Linked DNA regions of Homo sapiens: region 2 is linked to region 1. Evidence: promoter capture Hi-C in 16 types of primary human blood cells and fetal thymus (Javierre and others, 2016). All regions are on one chromosome and are shown on one strand. Each heading gives the region's core, a stretch centred on a gene start or on the middle of the fragment in contact. The rest is flanking DNA. Distances are from core to core; before and after follow the strand shown.

Region 1 (6,840 bases), core at 3,171-5,670:
GTAGTATTTTGCTTATTGTTTTATGTCTAAATCTATTTTTACCTATTTTGGGTTTTGAGGCACTTTGATGTTTCTAAAGATTATAAAAATCTTCATCATTTTATGACCTGTCTCCTTAAAACTAGTCAGGTTTTTGTGACTGTTTGAGCCAATACAATATACTTTGTAACTTCCAAGACTAGGTTATAAAGATGAAGCAACTTCTGCTTCACTCACTAGAACAGCAATTCCTAAAACTTTTAGCGATCATGTAAAGTAGTCTTCCTAAACTTAGGCCACCACGTGGTGAAAATTTCCAAGCCACAGGAAGAAACTATAAATAGGTGCTTTGTCTTTCCCTTGTGTCTTCCCTTCTGTCTTCCCCTTGTGAGGTTGTTTCTCTCCTAACACATTTTTATGTCCTCATCTCTAAATTCTACTGATACCCTGAGTCATGACATTGAGTATCAGTGGACTTTAGAGAACATAGATAATTATATATAATCTAATATACATATACACATATATAATTCTACTACATATTAATATGTAATATTATATGTTTTATATGTATATATGTACATATCTACATTTACATACCCACATGGTAGCACATTGTTAGAACAATCGTCTTTAGCATGCATATGGGAAACAGGAGGTAATAGGAATACATTTGTTAAAGTTGAATAAAACCAAAATTTAAATTTACTCCAAATCTCCTTCTTTAGAGAATGCAATTTATTGGTTTCATTCTGTGATATAATATATATACATCCTATATATGTAATACCTAATATGTATTTGCACATATTTATATATGTAAGTACTTAAATACATAAATATTACATATATCTACATATACATATTACATATGTAAATATAGAGTATGTAAATATGTATATAAACATATGCAATATAGTTATATATGTAATGTTATGCATAATATTTTGCATATATAAGATGTGTGTGTATATATATATATTTCAGGATGTAACCAATAAATTGCATTCTCTAAAGAAGGAGATTTGGAGTAAAATTAAATTTTGGTTTTATTCAACTTCTAACAAATTTATTCCTATTGCCTCCTGTTTCTCATATACATGCTAAAGATGATTATTCTAACAAAGTGCCACTGTGTAGGTTGATGAGATAATGTGTAAGTTTGGAGAACCATGTTGGACTCACAGTGGAATTCATAGAAAGACATTGATTTCCTAAATCCCCATGTTCTTCAAATGAAACTGAACATATGTGGTGAAATTTTATTGTTGGAGCCAACATTATAGTTGTATCAATGAGCCTGGAATGAAATTTAAGAGTTTTAGAGAAAATTCAAAACTGAAATTTCACTTTGTTATATGTATTCAAAGAAAAGTGTAAAGGTTGAGGCTAAACCTCCCTAATCTTTACCCTCAATGGAGTGACTGTCACTTCTGGATGAAACATATATTCAATAAACACAAACAACAATAAAAATAAGCAAAAACAAGAGAAGTTAAAAGATGAAGCTTACATGGCAATAAACAGCATCAGGAATCCAAAATATGGCTGTTTCCAAACTGAGTACTATTGACTATCTTGCATTATATTTCTAAACTCAGAAACTCATTTGCTCAATGAGGGAGCATTATTATCCATGACATGAAGTTATCAAAGTGTTGCCTAAGATAATGCATTTGAAGAACGTTGCACAGTTCTTGTTGCAATATGCTAAAGATTTTACGGTTTAAAATTGCTGATACAAATGCGCACATTGTATCAGGATACATACAGGATACAGGATAGTAGAATTGCATGAGCAACAGACATTCAGAATCTGACATTTTATATTTTCATTTAGGGCGATATTGATCATTCACAGCACTCACTGGCATCATTGATCCCCCCATTTTTTTTGCAGGTGTGGGGAAACTGTCAACACCCTCGCCTCTGCAGGAGGTATGGCCATGTAACGCATTGGGCCAAATGACTGGGACAGGCAGCAAAACCAGTGTGCACTTTTCCGTGTTCTCTTCATTTGGGTAACCAGTTCCTGCCTGTGGAAATTTACCTTCCAATACTCAAAATAAATGAATATCATTTTCTGAAAGTTAAAACTCCTTTATGACTTCCTTTGTTTTCAAATGTACATTAGGATTTCATTTCACCTGAGTGCTTTATCCTTTAATTGTGATGACCCTTGAAGTCATAATGTATATTCAAATCTTTATTTCAAATATATATTTTACATTACTCATTATTAACTCTTATTGTCAAAATGAAGACTTGGGTTGCTTTTTAAATATTATCAATTGTTCATTTGCTTGTGAGCTCAAGGGTCTCTTTCCACAGCAGATGCCAAAACAGTCAGGTAAGGCATGCAGGGGGATACTTTGGGTTATTTCCATATTCACAAAAGAACTCATAAACGTGATGTGTTCAGCTCTAAGATGAAATAGTCGCTTAGGCTTTGAGGTGGGTGCTCCCATCACCTTTTCCAACTGGCATTTTTTTGGTCAACGCTTAAAATCATGTTTCAGTGTGACTGGCTTCTTATCTTGCATTTTATTTTTCAAGGATATACAGTACAGAGAGCCCTGCTTACGATCTGAATTTGAAAGATACTATAAACTAGAAGTAAACCTTTGTTATATTATCCTACTAAGAATTTGGGATTACTGATTATTGCAATATAAGCTACCAGATAACGGCTGTTACTATTGGCCATCAAAATAAATCTTTCAGATACATGACACCATCACAAAACAAGACAATACTATTAACTCCTCAAAGGCCTTAATGGATGTATGGAGAAGAAGTTGATAATAAATTGGAATATAGGGTGTGAGCCACTTAAAACAGATAATAAAATAAATGTATCCCCAAAGCACTTGAATGCATTTTTAGTAAAATCGTGGGCTGATAAGTATGATGTATCTAGAGCTTTTCTTTAACATAAAAGGGAAGCTATGTAAAGTGTTACTAATCCCCTCATCTATGACCTGACAAATCCACTCATCTTTTCACAGTATGCATTTCACTCATATTCTTATGGTCCTCCAAAAACATACATTTCTCATATTTAACTTTGAATGAATGCACAACTGAATGTTTTCATTTCTTCTATAATACTAAATATGGCTTTTGAAAATTAATTGACACCATTTTTATTTTGGACTTACCAAAAGTTGAAGAGTGGATGAATATAGAACAGAACTTTAACACAAAATACTTTTAAAGATAATATTTTAGGCTTTATGATTTTTTTTAGTGAGTCATTAACTTGAAAACATGTACTATTAGAATTGTCTTCTTCATAACACCAGATTTTTTTACCCAATGGCATATTAAAATTATTCAAAAACTTTTGAAAGGAAATATCGATTTTGATACATGATGCATTTTAGTAGCCTTATTTATTAAATTTACACCAATTTTATCTAATAACCACAATCAATTATTACAACTTATTCCTGAAAACATGAATATCACAAAACAGCCTAGGGTGAGCCTCTCGGGTTTCTTACACATTTTCTGAATAAAAAATTCTCTTCATGATTTTCTTGATGGCCACCTTTATTTGCTTATTTCTAAGACTGTAAATAATAGGGTTAAAGAGGGGAGGCATTATGGAATAAAAACCAGAAAGGATCAGATCCTGGGTGGCTGCAGGTATCGCAGGTGGCCTGAGGTACACAGAAGAGCATGAACTGAGGAAGACTGACACCACCAGGATGTGAGGGATGCAGGTGGAAAAGGCCTTTGTTCTGTCTGCTCCTCTTGGAAACCCGAGCACGGTCGAAAAGATGTGAATGTAAGACCTGATGATAAAGATGAAACAGCCGCCACCTACCCCCAGAGCAGAGACAACAATCATGACCTCATTGCTGAAGGTGTCAGAGCAAGAGAGCTTCAGCAGAGAGGGGATGTCACAGAAGAATTGATGAATAACGTTGGACCGACAGAAGGGCAGCTGGAATGTGCTGCCAGTGTGCATGCCTGCATAGACAAGACCACTGAGTAGGGAGGCCAGTGTCATCTGGATGCAGATTCGAGAGTTCACGATCACAGGGTAGTGAAGTGGCTGGCAGACAGCCACATAGCGGTCATGAGCCATAATGGTGAGAAACAGAAGCTCCACATATACAAAAAAAACCACGAGGAAGACCTGAGCTACACATCCCGCCTTAGAAATGGTGGTGCTGTCCAGTAGGGAATTGACACATGAGGTAGGGACTGTAACAGAAATGTAGCAGGCATCCAAGATAGACAGATTCCTGAGGAAGAAGTACATGGGCATGTGAAGGCTGCTGTCACAGGTGGTGACGGTCACAATGAGGATGTTTCCCATTAGAGTTACCAAATACAACATAAAGAAGGATGCAGAATGTAAAATCTGTAGTGTCCACACATCAGAAAACCTCATGAGGAGAAATTCCATCACGGTGGTTGAATTGGGCATCGGTGGATGATGAAGCTTGGACCTGGGAAACAGAAATCCTGAACACTCACGAAGAATCAAATGATGGAAAGATGGTTCTTAAATATCGTAGTCTTGATCCCTTTCTAGTTGTAATCTACATTGTTGGTCCTTACATTTTTGAAGGCAACTCAAGTGGTCCTCTATGAACCTACATAATATTCTTTATATTCAAATTGGGCAGATGCTTTGTTGTTGTTTCTGTTGTTTAGAAGTTGTTCAAAATTAAATTTTATGCAACTTAGTGTCCTCCATGGGTCAGATAAAGTTATTTACTTATATTTGATATTAAATAAATATTTTAATAAGTTATTTCACTCAAATATACTTATCGCTAATTATTTATCAATACAGATTCTGATACAGAGAACAAAACTGTTCACCCACATCATGAAGATATTGTCTTTATATGCTTAAGAATTGAATGAACAAATGTATGTTCTGGATAGTTTCTTGAGGTTCTTTAGATAGAGGGGAAATACACAATAATTTGTAGTGATTAAAATCCTAGCTTTGATTTTTAGTTAGCTACTTCAAAATACTGGTCTCCATCATAGTGTGAAATGGGCATTTTAGTTACAGGCTTAGTCTCCATTCCTTTATAGAACTCTAAAAAATGTTCTTTCTGTCATAGTGCTTCATCAGGATGAGATAAGATTTATAAAATCCTTAGGAAATTGTCTAGGACATCATGAATGTTCCTTAACTGTCTCTTGTTATTATTTTCAGAAACATCGATATTGTTATTGGTATGTAGGAATATTTTGAGGGCACATACTACTACCAGACATGTTCTAGATAAAATTCACATATCAATTTAAGACTCTCAATAATCCTGAAAGTTAGTATTTTATTCCCTTTTCACAGGAAGCAAAAACCTGTCCAGATTGAACAGCTACTCTTTCACCACAGTCATCCACCTCGTGTGCTTATTCTGTACCAGTTGCATTCAGCAGATAACTTGGAGACTGTGCCCAGTTGAATGACTCTGTCAGTTTTCAAATAACAGGATCAGGAAAAATAACTAGTGGCTACTAGGATTAATACCTGGGTGATGAAATAATCTGTACAACAAACACCCGTGACACAAGTTTACCTATATAACAAACCTGCACATGTACCTCTGCACTTAAAATAAAGGCTAATTTTTAAAAAAAGGGGGAAAAAAGAATGGCTTCATATTTTCATGATGATGAGCTAATGATAATTTTTCCTTATACTTTTATGTTGATGATCCAATTAGAATTTTACCATCTATAAGTTTCATGTATTATTGTATTAGGTAAATACAGTATGTGTCCAAAATATTTTTAAGCAGGACAAATTATCACATGGAAGGTTCAGCAGAACCTTCACTGTAGAAGAGGGAGACAGGAGGCTTGGGCTGTATCACTCCCACTTACCAGCCATGTAAAGTTGGCAACATTCTTCACCCAAGGAAAATTCCCTCCATCTGTAAAAGCAGAATCATGGTGTGTACTACTGTGATCAATTTAAACAATATGGGCTCATTCAGTGACGTAGTCCTTGATTCACTGATTGTTCAATCAATATATACACCTAATGCTGCTATCACAGGAGTTTTGTGAATAAATGAAACAGAATAAGTGCCTAAATCTCATGAAATTTAAATTTTATTAGAAAAGACTGACACTGAACTGTTAAACATGTGAGAAAGAATAAAATATTCCAGAAAGTTTTAAGTGCTTTGACAAAAACTCACAAGGTAATATGCTGGATGAGAAAGGGTGTGTGTGGCTGAGGGAAGAACGGGAGTTGATTAGTTAAGTGGAAGTGCTTGGAAGCCAGCAAACTGCTATGAAAATATAACACATATTGTCACTCTCATTCCAAACTAAGGTTTTCTGTTTGCTTTATGTAAAGAGAAGCACACTGTGTATCTGTTGAGTTGATTTAATAAATTATACTAAACTTGGTATTTCCAAACCAAATAATAATTTGCACTTTTGCTACTCTGACTTGACTTCTCCACACATTAGTTTGAGAGACTGAATTATGAAGCTAGAATAAAACTTAAAACACTGGTTGACATAATAATCTAACCCTGAGAGAACTAAGATTATGACAACAAATAATGCTTTTAAAATTTGATTAATTTTTAGTCTAAAATTTTATTATTCTAAAGATTTTTCTTCTTGCTAGTAAAAGTCTGAATTGGCAAATCTGAAGACTTATGCTGATAGATATATCAATCGATTGATTGTTAGACAGATAATAGATAGACAGATAGATGATAGATAGATAGACAGATAGACAGATACATAAAATTACAAGGGAATCCCTTGTAATATCAATTAGTATACCTTAAAGTTTTGATACTCTGCAAGTATTTTTTTAAGTTTTAACTGGAACACTTTCGAATGAAGCCACAATTTGTTTTA
Region 2 (6,840 bases), core at 2,052-4,551, 650 kb after region 1:
AAATTCCTAATAAAAATCAGATTGCTACCCTCTGAGGATGAATAGCCTTCCTGTTTCCATAGGTTAGGCCTCAATTTCCAAAACCTCCAAAAGCAGCACCTACTATCTATCTCAACAAGAGTTATCTTCAACACCTCTCTACTTCTGCTACTCACCTCAGTACTGAAAAGAAGAATGTAGTCTTCAGCTTTTCAAGTGAATGAATCATTTTGATATGGAATTGTATCTAAAACTTAATGTTAAGTGAAGGAGTATCGAAATGAACAGAATGCTTTCATTGACTCAGGTCTTTTCTTTCTATACTGATTTAAAAACACACCCCACTTAAGCATAATTTGCATAATTAATTTTCAAGCAAATATACTTGACTACTAGAATTCTGATTCACTTTTCTTTCTTCTTTCTTTAGCCTATAACTTACGATGATACATTTGTAGATAAAATACATATTATTCAGAATTATCTTCCAGTAATAAATTACTGGCAGTGGAAAAACAATAGATGCCCCATCAGGGAAAATAGAAGTTTGAAAAAAATAGGTTTAACCATAATAAATTGCCTTTGTACAACAAATACAGCACTGAAGGAATATAACAATCAATCTAAAAATTAAATCTATGCACACATAATTTTTGTACAATGGTGAGGGTAAAATTAAATTATATTTAGTCATTATATTCAAAACAGCAATTCCATTACTATCTACCAAAAAGAAAATAAATCATTACAATATATAAAGACACATGCACACGTATGTTCATTGCAACACTATTCACAATAGCAATGACATGGAATCAACCTAAATGTCCATCACAAATAGACCGGATAAAGAAAATGTGGTACATACACACCATGGAATACTATGCAGCTGTAAAAAAGAATGAGATCATGTCGTCTGCAGAAACATGGATGGAGCTGGAGACCATTATCCTTAGCAAACTAACCCAGGAACAGAAACCAAATTCCACATGTTCTCACTTTTAAGTGGGAGCTAAATGGTGAGAACACATGGACACATAGAGGGGAACAATACATACTGGGGCGTATCATGGGTGGAGGGTGGGAGGAGGAAGAGAATCCAGAAAAATAACTAATGGCTACTAGGCTTAATACCTGGGTGATGAAATAATCTGTGCAACAAACCCCCATGACACAAGTTTACCTACGTAACAAACCTGAACATGTACCCCAGAATTTAAAACAAAACTTAGATAAATAAACAAATACATTTATTAAAAGTAGTTCAGGATTTGCTAGCAATTCTCCCACATTTCACCCCACCCATAACATTACATATGATCAAGGACTATATTATTACTAAGCTGGTTTTGTTATTTTATTCTGTCTTCTTTTTCCTCCTTCAGTGTGTATCTGATATTCATTTCAAGTATGCTTGAGTTTATTTGCTTTCATTTTCTTTCAGTTTTAGGACTTCCATGTTTCTCATTGTTATAGATTTTATGTTTTGAATATGAAGAATATTAACATGCTTCACAAGTCAAAAATGCACAAGAAGATACATGCAAGAAGGGATATTCCCTGCCCTATACCTTTTACTTCTTCCCACTTTTCACCTATTGTAGCTAATACACTAAAATGTTTTTTACTTTTATTTTCTGTGTTTTCATTTGTAGGCTAGCAGATATGCTTTCTCTATTTTCCTTTTCTTTCTATACAAGAGGTTGTACTCTATATTTTTTAGTAGTTAGCTTTTTTCACTTAGCAATATTTCTTTGAAACGCTATATACAGATCTACCGCATTCTTTTCTTACATTTGCATAATGCTTCCATTGTGTAGATGTACAAAAGCTTATTCAATCAATTTTCTATGCCTGAATATTGAAGTTATTTTGCAATATTTAGCAATTATAAATAGTGCTATGATGAATAATTTTCTACATCTTTTTTGTACTGTCAGAGATCTATTTTCTGGTTATCAGCAAATTATTGGGTCGATGTTTAGTTAGTTTTGTTAGATATAACCCAAATTTCCAAAATGGGGTTGCATCATTTGTATTATCATGAATAATATGTGAGAATGCCTGTTTCTCCACATTCCCATCAACAGAATGCCCTGTCAAGGTTTTGCATTTTTGCCAGTTTCATGAGAAGTGGTATCTTAAGGTTGTTTTAATTTGCATTTATCTTATTATTGTGAAATTCACCATTAAAAATATATCTAATAACGATTTTCATATCTCTATATGAATTGCTCTAATATCTTTTGCAATTTTCCATAGATTTTAAAAATCTTTAGTCAATGTTTAATCTTTTTATATATTAAGGATGTTAGCCTTTCACCTATAATGTATGCCACACATATTTTTTCTCCATTATTTTTAACTGCTCATGGTGTTTTCCCCTGTATTTTACTTTAATTTTATGTAGTCAAACAGATTATATTTCTATTGCACATAGATTTTAAGTCTTGGTTAGAAGGCCATTCCCTACTCTGAGATTACAGAAAAAAAATCCATTTTTTCCTAGTATTTGTAATTGCCACATTTCCAGTTTTACATTTAGATCTCTGAACCATTTTTTTTCCTGTGGTTAACATGAGGAATGAATCTAATTTTGATTCTGGCAAATAACTATACAGTTGTTCTAACTCCATATATTTAAAAAACTATCTTTGCCCTAGTAATTTGCAATAGTGATTTTATCATATGTTAAATTTCTATATGTAGTAGGACCTATTTCTAGGTTTGTCTTCTATCTCCCTCCCCTCACTTCCTGGTCTCTTTCCTTCTTCTCTCCTTTCAAACAGGCTCCAATGCCTCATTATTCTATTATACTCTCAGCAGTAATTTTAAAATTTAATACAGCAAATCCTGCCTCCTAACTATTTCTGCTCAGTATTTTTCTAGTTGATATTACGTATTTACTTTTTCATGATTTAGGATCATGTGTCTAGCTTGACCAAAAAGCTTGCAGTTTTCATTGCTTTTGTATTAAATGTATAAAAATAACTTTAGAACTGACCATTTCATGAGACTTTCTAACTTAGAACATAGATTACATTTCAATTTATGCAAGTATACTTTTCCATTAAAATTTGTTATTATAAGGTCATTTTAGTTTCACATGTAGTTTTAAGAAATAATACTAAGAGGTTCTTGGTACAGTTTACTAGTTTCTCACAATGGTAACATTTTGCAAAACTTTAGTACAATATCACAAACAGCAATTGACATTGATAAAATTCACAATCTTATTCCAATTTCCCCAGTTTTACTTTCACTTATTTGTGTGTGTGAATTTATTTCTGTATAATTTTATCACATGTGAAGGTTTATCCACCACTGTAGCAAAGATAATAAACAGTTCCATCACCAAAAGGACCTCTTATGTTGCCCTTTTATAGCAACCACTTCCTTTCCACTGCTTATCCTTTATCGCTGGCAACCACCAATCTGTTTCCTTTCCTAACATTTTATTATCTCAACAATGTTTTATAAGTGGATCATACAACTTGTAATATTATAGTATTACCTTTTATTACTCAGCATGGTTTCTTTGAGATTATCAAAATTGTTATGTATATCAATAGTTTACTTCTTTTTATTTCAAGTAGCATACGATGCTATGTATGTTTCACAGTTCATTTAACCATTCACCTATTGAAGGACTTCTGGGATGCTTTCACTTTTTGAAAATTATGAAGAAAGCTTCTATCTACGAGCTTTCATGTACAAGTTTGTAATATATATGTGTATATATACAAATGACATATATGTGTATATATACAAATGACATATATGTGTATATATACAAATGACATATATGTGTATATATACAAATGACATATATGTGTATATATACATATGACATATATGTGTATATATACATGACATATATGTGTATATATACATATGACATATATGTTTATATACCCATATATACATATGTGTATATATACATATATACATCTATGGCATATATGTGCATACATATATGGCATATATGTGCATACATATATGTACATATACATATATGGGACATGTATGCACATATACCTATCTGGGGCATGTATGTGTATACATGTATACATGTATGGGACATTTATGTATGCACGTGTATACATATATGTATGCACATATATGGCATATATGTATATATAGCTATATGGGACATATATGTATATATAGATATATGGGACATATTGTATATATAGATATATGGGACATATTGCATATATATGTATATACATATATGCATATATGAAATATATATGTATATATATGTATCTTCATTCCTGTGGGATTAACACCCAAGAGTAGAAGTGTCGGATTGTATAATAATTGCATGTTGAGTTTTATAAGAACCTGATGAACCTGTTTTCCAGAGGCACCGTACCATTTTACATTCCCACTAGCAATGCATAAGCAATCCAGTTTTTCTTTATCCTGATTTAAAAAAAAAAATAGTCATTCTGATAGCCCGTGACAGTTTAAATTTACATTTATTTAATGGCTAGTCATTTTGAACATATTTTCATGTGTTTATTTGCCATGTGTATATCCTCTCTAGTGAAATATCTATCCATGTCTTATGATCCTTTTAAAATTGGATGTTTATCTTTTTTTTGCAGATTCTTTGGGAATTTCTACATAGACAAAATGTCATCTGCAACTAGAGATTGTTTTCTTTCTTCTTTTCCGATCTCTATACCTTTTATTATTTTTCCTTCTCTTATTATAGAAGCTAGAACTTCCAGTACCTTTTTATTGAGTAAGAAAGATGAAAATGGACATTCTTACCTTGTTCCCTACTATTTGGAAAAGCATTTAGTCTTTATTAAGTCTGATGTTACCTGTAGATTTTTTGTAGATGGTCTTCAGCAGGTTAAGATAATTTGTCTATTTTTGACTTACTGAAAATTTTAAATAAAATGATTATAAATAAGAGCTGAATTTCGACAAATGCTTTTGCTGCATCTTTTCCCTGTTAACATAGTTGATTCTATTAATTTTCAAATATTGAACTAAGCTTGCATACCTGGAGTAAATGTCCTTTGTTGTGTTATCCCATACTTTTTATACATTGTTAGATTTGTTTTCATATTTTGTTAAAGATTTTATATCTAGGCTCATAAGAGTCACTGGTCATAAGAAATAGTGTAATTTTTTTTGTGTGTACTGTTTTTATATTTTCTTTGTTGTATTAATTGACGTCAGGGGTTCAACACCAGCCTGGCCAATATGGTGAAACCCCGTATCTACTAAAAATACAAAAATTAGCCAGGCAGGATTGCAGGTTCCTGTAATTCCAGCTACTCAGGAGGTTGAGATGGGAGAATCGCTTGAACCCGGGAGGTGGAGGTTGCAGTGAGCTGAGATCGTGCCATTGCCCTCCAGCCTGGGCTACTGAGCGAACTCTGTCTCAAAAACAAAACAAAACAAAACAAAAATTAACCTCATAAGATATTGTATAAAATCCACATTAATATTTTCTTTAAAAGTTTGGTCAATTCTTTAGTGAACCATTTTGGACTGAAAATGTCTCTGTCAGAGGCTTTAATTTATAAATTAAATTTCCTTAGTGGTTATGGGAATATTCATATTACCTCTTTCATCTTCGTTGAGTTTAGGTAGTTTACAATTTTTAAGAAATTGGTCTATTCTTTTTTCTAAGTTGTTGAATTTATGAGCATAAAGTTGGTTGTATTGTCTTTTCAATAGCTGAAGGATCAGTAGTGATAGGCCCAATTGGCATGGGAGAGGAGTATCAGGTTTCTGGAGAAAAGAGGTTTCCTTGACCTCTCACTGTGCCTATTTTGGGATAATCATATTTGCTGGTGGTCTTTGGCTACTTTGGGGTCTCCCATGGCAGGGGTCCCCAATCCCCTGGCCACAGACGATTATGGTTCCTGATCTCGCCTCTTGTCAGATCAGCGATGGCGTGAGATTCTCATAGGAGTGTGAGCCCTACTGTGAACTGTGCATGCGAGGGATCTAGATTGTGCACTCCAGTGAGAATCTAATGCCTGATAATCTGTCACTGTCTCCCATCATGCCCAGATGGGACTGTCTGGTTGCAGGAAAACAAGCTCAGGGCTCCCACTGATTCTACATCATGGTGAGTTGTAAATAAATAAATAAATATATATATATATATATATATATATATATATATATATATATATATAATAGAAATAAAGTGCACAATAAATGTAATGCACTTGAATCCTCCCTTAACCTCCTCCACCTGTGGAAAAATTGTCTTCCCCAAAACTGGTCCCTGGTGCCAAAAAGGTTAAGGACTGCTGTTCTAGGGGCTGGGGGATAGAGACTTTCCAGAAATATTACTCCTTTTGGTAGAGTCCCTCTTGCTGGCTCTGCTCAGCAGTAGGGTTAGCAGGTTTAGATGGATTGGAGGGTCTCAGGCCTGACAAGAGTGTAGAGTGCTTCCCTTGCCTTCTAATTGTTAGTGAGATCATTTTGCTCTTGCTCTTATAGTAATGCAGTATGGTTTGACCTGTGGGAGGGTAAGCCTAGCTGGTCTGTGTTTGTTGGTATGTTGGGAATTTAAAAAGATTGGGTCTGTTTCTCCTTCTTGAGTCAAGTGGGGGACTAGGATACCCCATCACTGTGTTGTTCATCCAGTTTTGGGTTCCCAAACTAGGTTGCATTCTTCCTACCACATTTAAACGTTCCTCTGTGGTTTCACTTTTATAGTTGTCCAGGTTTTATATTTGTGCTTAGTAGAGTGGAGTGAGAAGAAATGGTCCATACTGTTCTAGTCCTTGCCTTGTCTATCTGGTATCTTTCAGGATGTTTTATGGTTTTCTTCACATGGATTCAGATCAATTTTTGGTAAGTTGGGTTTTAACTATTCAT

Evidence for each region. The method cuts DNA at HindIII sites, captures the fragments that hold promoters and counts their contacts. A CHiCAGO score of 5 or more calls a contact.
Region 2: a contact is called between a fragment that was not itself captured here and the fragment with the promoter of OR14C36 in region 1, in 1 of 17 cell types (M2 macrophages). The highest score is 6.9, in M2 macrophages.

Annotation. Positions count from the first base shown.
Region 1 is chr1:248,346,355-248,353,194 of GRCh38, reverse strand. OR14C36 (olfactory receptor family 14 subfamily C member 36) reads right to left here and starts at 4,420. Exons shown (of 1, transcript NM_001001918.1): 1 at 3,482-4,420. The coding sequence starts at 4,420. The coding sequence ends at 3,482. The HindIII fragment of the contact is 2,948 bases long and covers 1,490-4,437 here.
Region 2 is chr1:247,698,069-247,704,908 of GRCh38, reverse strand. No RefSeq gene overlaps it. Among named protein-coding and RNA genes, the nearest start is that of OR6F1, 15 kb to the left of the region's middle. The HindIII fragment of the contact is 741 bases long and covers 2,931-3,671 here.